Regions from separate parts of the Homo sapiens genome. Here regions 2 and 3 are each linked to region 1. Evidence: promoter capture Hi-C in 16 types of primary human blood cells and fetal thymus (Javierre and others, 2016). All regions are on one chromosome and are shown on one strand. Each heading gives the region's core, a stretch centred on a gene start or on the middle of the fragment in contact. The rest is flanking DNA. Distances are from core to core; before and after follow the strand shown.

The links. The method cuts DNA at HindIII sites, captures the fragments that hold promoters and counts their contacts. A CHiCAGO score of 5 or more calls a contact.
Region 2: a fragment that was not itself captured here is called in contact with the fragment with the promoter of SCGB1A1 in region 1 in 1 of 17 cell types (M0 macrophages); the score reaches 5.0 in M0 macrophages.
Region 3: the fragment with the promoter of GANAB here is called in contact with the fragment with the promoter of SCGB1A1 in region 1 in 3 of 17 cell types (monocytes, erythroblasts and M2 macrophages); the score reaches 5.8 in monocytes.

The regions. Positions count from the first base shown.
Region 1 is chr11:62,417,655-62,420,354 of GRCh38, reverse strand. It overlaps SCGB1A1 (secretoglobin family 1A member 1), which reads right to left and starts at 1,322. Exons shown (of 3, transcript NM_003357.5): 1 at 1,205-1,322. The coding sequence starts at 1,259. All of the region lies in intron 1 of LOC102723765 (a long non-coding RNA gene), which reads left to right. RefSeq lists a silencer at 2,004-2,298. The HindIII fragment of the contact is 29,364 bases long and covers 373-2,700 here.
Region 2 is chr11:62,214,248-62,217,019 of GRCh38, reverse strand. No RefSeq gene overlaps it. Among named protein-coding and RNA genes, the nearest start is that of SCGB2A1, 7.0 kb to the right of the region's middle. The HindIII fragment of the contact is 3,405 bases long and covers 1-2,772 here.
Region 3 is chr11:62,645,130-62,648,039 of GRCh38, reverse strand. GANAB (glucosidase II alpha subunit) reads left to right here and starts at 1,427. Exons shown (of 24, transcript NM_198334.3): 1 at 1,427-1,478. The coding sequence starts at 1,441. It overlaps INTS5 (integrator complex subunit 5), which reads left to right. Exons shown (of 2, transcript NM_030628.2): 2 at 1-1,192. The coding sequence ends at 1,020. RefSeq lists a silencer at 1,256-1,335 and enhancers at 1,946-2,105, 2,421-2,910. The HindIII fragment of the contact is 15,573 bases long and covers 1-2,910 here.

The DNA.
Region 1 (2,700 bases), core at 73-2,572:
CAACAGAGCGAGACTCTGTCTCAAAAAAAAAAAAAAAAAAGAATGAAAAGAGATATTATGTGAAAGGGTGACAGTGATTGGCACATTGTGTGAAGTAAGTGTTAAATATTGTATGCATGTGCACACAAATAGACAAATGCATCTCTGACCCACCCCTTAACATGTTGCAGTCCTATCTTGCTCAGCCACCCACCTCTGTACGCAGACAGCACTGAGATCTTCTAATTAATACACATTTCAGTCCAAAATGATGTCATTTTCTCTGAAAAACAAATAAACCTCTCTGCAAAATAGTTGTTCCTACTGCTTCTTGGTTTGGGTTTTCTAACTCCCCAGGGTCATAAAACTTATCTCCATGGGTGTTGTGAAGCTTTCCAAGTGAATTAATTGGAGTTTGTTTATTAAAAAATAACAACAGCATTTTCAGATGAGAATGGAAGAGGCTGACGCAGAGTGAAAAACAGAGTTAGATAACCCAGTTCCCCAAAGACGGGGGATCTTGGAGAGAGCTGTGATCCTTCTTTCCTTCCTTTCTCCCCCTCTCTCCGTCTCTCTTTCTGCCCCTCTTCCCCCCACAGTTCTTTTCCTTTTAGTGACAGCAGCAACTACTCAGAGACTCCTAATCCCTTTTGCAGAGGACGGAAATGTTTAGAAAACTTCACTCTGGGTTGGCAGTTCCCCAAAGGGAAGCTCTCTTTCTGGAATATTCCTCTGTGCCCAGAATGAGAGACCTTGTCTTGGGTTGGGTTTCTTTTGGGGTCACGAGTCCCTGCAGCTCCCCTTCCAGTGACTTCAGCTGCCAGCATGGAGTGGAGACCCCAGACTTGGAGGCTGCACCAAGGTCTCAGCATCTTGGAGTCTGTCCAGATCTGGGATGAGGGCCTCATTATTCCTATGCTGGATGTACTCATCTTTATGGGGTATTCTCCACTCCTCCCTCCAGGCTATTCCATTCCCTGGGATTCTGAGGGTTGTTGGATATAGAAGATGGGACCCTTTTTAGGCTTCCTTACAGCCTGGGGCTCTCTCCAAGTTTCCAAGATGAGCTTGCTCACCAGACCCAGTTTTCTGAGACTCAGCATGCCCAGGTCCTCCCAGCAGCTCCAGAGCAGGAATGGGCAGCTCACTCCTTCTTCTGAGCAGAACTGGGGGGTCCTGAGAGTTCCTAAGTCCAGGAGGGAGGGAAGGGTCTCTGAGCACTCACCGGAGCTGCAGCAGAGAGCCAGTGTGACCAGGGTGAGGGTGACAGCGAGTTTCATGGTGGAGGAGGGGGATGCTCTGGCCCGTCTCTGGTTCCGTCTCTGAGTCTGGTGGGCTAGTATGAGACATGCCCAGCAAGGTGCCTTTTATATGCTCTAGGCAGCAGCACCCAGATGGGGAAGGGCAGGGCAAGGGCTCTACATAAGATACTGCACTATTTACTTGGCATTGGCTTGGTGGGATAGGTAAATATTCCCTTTTCTCAACCCAGTTTCTGTCCCCACTGAAACTGAGCTCACACAATGGGCCACTTGGGGGTGGAGGGCCGAGCCCTGCCTGGAGGCAGTGAAGGGAACCCAAGTCAGAGGATGTGGAAACCCAGCTGCCTGTGTCACTCACTGAACCTGGGCACTGGGGCAGTCCAGATCAAGAGAAGCAATTGTGGAGCCCACCTGGAGAAACTGAGGCCCAAGTTCCCTCACAAGTGGCAGGGACAGGACTAGGACTAGGACTCAGGACCCTGACACTCCACTGGGCTCTTTCATAGGCTCCCCTCTGAGGAGGGCGACTGAACCTTAAGCCAGGAAAGACACATGGTTTGGAGCATTGCTGTGGTCAGACTTCGGGGGCCCCTGGATTGAAGCATGTTGAATAAAAGGGACCCTTCCAGAATTCCCATCAGAAACCTGAGCCCTGCCCCAGGCTGGGTCTGTTCCCACCCAGAAGTGCTCTCAAGTCCTGTGCTCCTGATGGCCCAATTGGTGGGACCTTCAGTCCTTATCTCACTTGACCTCCCAATGGCCTTGACACCTGTGACTGCTTCCTTCTCGAACCATTCTCTCTCTTGCGCTCCCACGCCTCAGTTCTTTCCTGTTTTCCTTCTTCTGGCCATTCCTTCTTGTTCTCTTTAGATGTTTATTCTTTACTGTTCTTAAGTGTTGATGGTTCCCAGGCTTTGGCCTTCTCCCCTTTCTTGCCTCCAGTTGCCATTTCCTGGTTCTTCTCCAAAGCCCGGGCCTCATAGCACCTAACCTGGCCTGGTCAAAATCCCCTGACTCGACCTCCCTGCCTCCCTGCTAGCTCTCCTCAGCCATCCTCTGAAAGGCCATCAGAATGATCTTCCTAAAACCCACTGGTCGTGTCCTTCTTCTTGAAACCCTTAAACTCTTCCTTTTGCCTAAAGAATAAAATTCAAGTGCAATTTACAAGGCCCTTGCCCACTGACCTTTGCCTACCATTTGAACTTCATTTCTCCTCTCCCCCACACAACGACTTAGCCCTCTCTTACTATTTGTGGATTCGAGAATGTTCCATGTTTTTTCATGCCTTTCTACCTATGCACAAGCTAAGCCTCATGCCTGAATACACATTTCCTGCCTTGTCCACTTCGCCAAATTCTATTCGTACTTCAAGACTCAATCAAATATTGATCCATTCATTCATCCAATAAATGCTGACCACCTATGATGTGCCAGATGTGGTGCTAGGAGTCGGGAACTG
Region 2 (2,772 bases), core at 97-2,596, 200 kb after region 1:
TCTCTAATTTTCTTTACTATCATTTTTCTTAGGTCTTGTATATTTTCCCTGTGAGCTGTGCTATTATTGTCTTACCGGGCTGAAGGGGGCCAACCCCTCCACACCTGTGGGTATTTCTCGTAGGTGGGATGAGAGACTGAGAAAAGAAATAAGACACGGAGACAAAGTATAGAGAAAGAACAGTGGGCCCAGGGGACCGGCACTCAGCATACGGAGGACCTGCACCAGCACCGTTCTCTGAGTTCCCTCATTATTTATTGATTACCATTTTCACTATCTCAGCAAGAGGAATGTGGTAGGAGAGCAGGGTGATAGTGGGGAGAAGGTCAGCAAGAAAACATATGAGCAAGGAATCTGTGTTACAAGTAAGTTCAAGGGAAGGTACTATGCCTGGATGTGCACGTAGGCCAGATTTATGTTTCTCTCCACCCGAACATCTCAGTGGAGTAAAGAATAATAAAGCAGCATTGCTGCCAACATGTCTCACCTCCCGCCACAGGGCAGTTTTTCCCTTTTTCTCCTATCTCAGAATTGAACAAATGTACAATCGGGTTTTATACTGAGACATTCAGTTCCAGGGGCAGGAGACAGTGGCCTTTCTCTATCTCAACTGCAAAGGCTTTCCTCTTTTACTAATCCTCCTCAGAACAGACCCTTCCCGGGTGTCGGGCTGGGGGACAGTCAGGTCTTTGCCATCCCACGAGGCCATATTTCAGACTATCACATGGGGAGAAACCTTGGATATACCTGGCTTTCCAGGACAGAGGTCCCTGTGGCTTTCCACAGTGCATTGTGCCCCTGGTTTATCAAGACTGGAGAATGGTGATGACTTCTACCAACCATACTGCCTGTAAACATTTTGTTAACAAGGCACATCCTGCACAGCCCTAGATCCCTTAAACCTTGATTCCATACAACACATGTTTTTGTGAGCTCAAGGTTGGGGAAAATTACAGATTAACAGCATCTCAGGGCAAAGCAATTGTTCAGGGTACAGGTCAAAATGGAGTTTCTTATGTCTTCCCTTTCTGCATAGACACAGTAACAGTCTGATCTCTTTCTTTTCCCTACCCCGGGGGTCTTGGGTGGAAAACTTTCGATCTGCATTAGGAATGTTTGACCGGGAGGATATTTACATTTTTAAATTGCCATAGCAGCCCTAGGGATCATGTTTTTTTCCTTCCCTGAAAAGAGGATGTCTAGGATGGACATTAACTCGACCCAAGTGTGTAACCGAGGTCTCAAAAACTGATCAACCTGATCTGTCACTCTGTAAGTGTCATATAACAATGGCTTAAGTTTCTTCTTCAAACTTTAGACCTCCAAACTGGTTAAGGGAGTATTTACAAAGTCAGTAGTTCCATCTCCTTGTGGCACCTCTTTTAAGGGGAAGAGAGTTGGGGCTGACTCCTTAGGTGTGGAGGGAAATGGGAAATTTTGAATATCCTTTTTATATTGTTTTTTCTAATGCTGGAGTCTTTTTAGGGAAGGATACATGGGCTGAGAAGAAATAGGCTACATGGGCTGAGAAGAAATAGGCTCATGGGATGATGATTCCCAGGAATCTGGATTGTAAGGAGGAGGAATAATGTGAGCAAGGGAGGGATCTGGGGCAGGATCTGGGACAGAAGGGCTGTCTGAGGGGAAGGGTTAAGAGCATTCAGCAGGGGAAGATGGTCTAGGGGATCCCATGTGCTGGAGTCTTTAGGCATGAGAACTGGCTTTTCTGACTCTTTATTTTGGGGTTTTTGATTGAGTTTTTTCCTAATTGTCTTTCAGGGAAAAAGGAGAATAGGTCTCTGTCTCTAAAAAAGAATATAGTCCAGCTCTTCTTGAGAAACTAGATTTTTGTCATTTACATATTGAATTACAAGTTGACACATCACATCCTTATTTGACCTAAACTTTGGCCAGAAGATTGAGGGTTTGAGGATAGGTCTCTGAGTCCAAATAAAACAGCAATATTTTATCATCTGTTGCATGGCTTTTGTAGGTCACAGGTATTACATTGCCTTCATAGGCCACTTCTTCATAAGAACATTTTAAACATACTTTACAACTGTATTGGTAAGACGAAGTATAGAATTCAGGCTAGATTCATTGGTATATGTTCATTAATATTACAATCACTTCAGGAAATTATTCTTTAAATTATAACATTTTCATACACCCCTATGTATATTGTGGGCCTGGATCCCTGCCCTTGCCTTGCCTGATGGAAGAGTCGGCCCTGGTGAAGCTGAGTTGTCCAGACACATAGACAGGGTCTTCCTGGGTGAGGGGATAGCCCCAGAAGGAAAAGGGACAGGCAATAACCTAACCCTGGTGACAGGAGTGCTGGGGACAGGACACGATGGAGACCCCGGTTCCATTTAAACATCCCCTTCTGTGCTGGGTCCCTGCATAGCACACTCACTCCCCTCAACCCTCATTGCCTTTGCAGCTCACTGTGGGGCAGGGGAGGATGGACCCACTGGCAGAGACTGGACTGAGAAAAGTTGCACAATTTAAGGTGTCGCTATGCTAGCAAACTCAGTCATCAGGGTAAGTAATATTTTCATGCAATATTTTAAAAGTTCAAAATTAATGCCAACATCCATGAACGACAAATAAAACTCAAAATTTAAAATCCAGACAGGATCCACCTTGCTTTGCAGGCCTCCCCTCCCTGGCTGGCTCTGGTCTGGGCCCTGCACACGTTGGGGAGGCCCAAAGACAACCCAGAGGAGCCTGGCATAACCAGCAGGGCTCAGCATGGATGGGACTGGGGTA
Region 3 (2,910 bases), core at 178-2,677, 230 kb before region 1:
TCCCCAGCTGGGCTCAAGGCTGTCCTGCAGCTGCTGGTTGAAGGAGCCTTACATCGAGGCAACACAGAACTGTTTGGTGGGCAAGTAGATGGGGACAATGAGACTCTCTCAGTTGTTTCAGCTTCTTTGGCTTCTGCCTCCCTGTTGGACACTAACCGGAGGCACACTGCAGCTGTGCCAGGTCCTGGAGGGATTTGGTCAGTTTTCCATGCTGGAGTCATCGGCCGTGGCTTAAAGCCACCCAAGTTTGTCCAGTCACGAAATCAGCAGGAAGTGATCTATAACACCCAGAGCCTCCTCAGCCTCCTGGTTCACTGCTGCAGTGCCCCAGGGGGCACTGAATGTGGGGAATGCTGGGGGGCACCCATCTTGAGTCCAGAGGCAGCCAAAGCAGTGGCAGTGACCTTGGTGGAGAGTGTGTGTCCCGATGCAGCTGGTGCAGAGCTGGCCTGGCCCCCCGAGGAACACGCCCGGGCCACCGTGGAGCGGGATCTCCGCATTGGCCGGCGCTTCCGCGAACAGCCCCTGCTCTTTGAGCTGTTAAAGCTGGTAGCAGCTGCACCCCCAGCCCTGTGCTACTGTTCCGTGCTGCTTCGGGGGCTGCTGGCCGCCCTCTTGGGCCATTGGGAAGCCTCTCGCCACCCTGACACGACCCACTCCCCCTGGCACCTGGAGGCATCCTGCACCTTAGTGGCTGTCATGGCTGAGGGAAGCCTCCTGCCTCCGGCCCTGGGTAATATGCATGAAGTATTTAGCCAACTGGCACCTTTCGAGGTGCGTCTGCTGCTGCTCAGTGTCTGGGGTTTTCTCCGGGAGCATGGGCCCTTGCCTCAGAAGTTCATCTTCCAATCAGAGCGGGGTCGCTTCATTCGGGACTTCTCCAGGGAGGGTGGAGGTGAGGGTGGACCCCATCTGGCTGTGCTGCACAGTGTCCTCCACCGCAACATCGACCGCCTAGGTCTTTTCTCTGGCCGTTTCCAGGCACCTTCACCGTCCACTCTCCTTCGACAGGGGACGTAGCCTTTTCTTGCTCTGGAAGCCCAGGGAGGTTGAGCAGTGAGAGAGGGAAGGGACTAACGTGCTCCGGAAGGGTGGAGGTTTCTCTTCTAAGTCCTTGGTCTAAAGAGCGCTGTCACTTTTTTCTCTCCCACTTTTTTTTTTCTAAATAAAATTTGCCAACTTGAGAAAACCAGTCCAGTGCTTCTGTCATGCTGAGAGCGTGCAAAGTCTGACAGCGCCTGGCTCTGGACGTTCCCGCCCCTGGCCTGAAGCCCCGCCCCCTGCGATAATTTGGAGTGCGCACTCTACCAATGAGACAGCTGCCCGGCGGCGCTCAGGTCGAACCAATCATAAGGCCGGAAGGGGCGGGAACTAGGATACGTGGCTGAGCGCGCGCGATGGGGCGGGAGGTTTGGGGTCAAGGAGCAAACTCTGCACAAGATGGCGGCGGTAGCGGCAGTGGCGGCGCGTAGGAGGCGGTGAGGAGCCCGGAATCTGGGGGCGCGCCCGGGACGCCCCCAGATCCCCCAAGTCCCATTCCACTCCTTCCTGTGTGTCTCTTGACACTCTGCCACCCCCGGCCTCGTGAGGAACCTTTGTTCCTCTGGAGGCGGCCTCAGACGCCTCCGGTCTCCCCGTGGTAGATCCGAGCGACGCTGGGGGCCTTGCCTGTGGGGCTCCGGGCTCCCGCCCGGCGGTTTAGTAAAGCCACAGCTGTGCGTCTTTCTTGGTCTTGGCCGCTCTCAGCCGCCGCCCTCCTTTGGCTGCTTGCGGCGGTCAACGTCGCCGCCCCCTTCCTGCAGTGCGCGGGGTCGTCGGGGCGGGGGAAAAGATGCGGCCTGGCCTCGGGGAATGCAGCCTGCGGCCCCGCGGCCCCTCGGCTGAGCTGGAAGCACCGGGCCAGCAGTTAAGCCTGTACTACCCTTCTGGCTCTACCCTGTAGAGCTCCGAATCCTCCTCTGCCCTTGTCTTCACGTGAGCACCAGCTCTGGCTTAGTTCAGTGTCCACGGTCGCTGGGCACGGCCCAGGGTCCAGTAAGCTCACGGCGTGGATGGTGTTGCTCAAACACAACATGTAATCGAATGGCTTGGTCCACGCTCTCGGGTTTATATTACTGGGGAAAAAAAAAGATTCGAAACATATCACCAGTGCCACAAATGTTTACTAGGACCTAACGGATATACTGGGGTGGGGTAGGCGTGTACTCTCCAAAGCGATGAAGAAAGCGTGGATCATAAACTCAGTTCCCTCGGAGCCTGTGATCTGAAACAATAAATGCGTGCAACTTGCCCTGCAGCTTATTCCTGACTTTGGCCTATGAACACCTCTCTTGGGGTGGTCAAGGCCGCCGTGAATTCCTTAGGGCCCTCCAACAGGTCATATCTGAAAGATGCTTTAGGAATCCTATCTCCATTGGCATCTTTCCGAACCAATTTTACAGACTGTGCAAATAGGGCCCCAGAGGGTATTTAACTCACTGTACGTCTTTTTTTTTTTTTTTTGAGAGACAGAGTCTCGCTCTGTTGCCCAGGCTGGAGTGCAGTGGCGAGATCTCGGCTCACTGCAAGCTCCGCCTCCTGGGTTCACGCCATTCTCCTGCCTCAGCCTCCCGAGTAGCTGGGACTACAGGCACCCGCCACCACGCCTGGCTATTTTTTTGTATTTTTAGTAGAGACGGGGTTTCACTATGTTGGTGAGGATGATCTCGATCTCTTGACCTCGTGATCCACCCGCCTCGGCCTCCCAAAGTGCTGGGATTACAGGCGTGAGCCACCGCGCCCGGCCTCAACTCACTGTACTTCTATTTACTGCTGCTTTTGGCAGGTGGACGTGGGTCAGTGGCCAAGAGTGCCTGTTGCAGTCACTCAGGTCACTCACTGCAGGACCTGTGCCGCATGCCTTGCTATGGA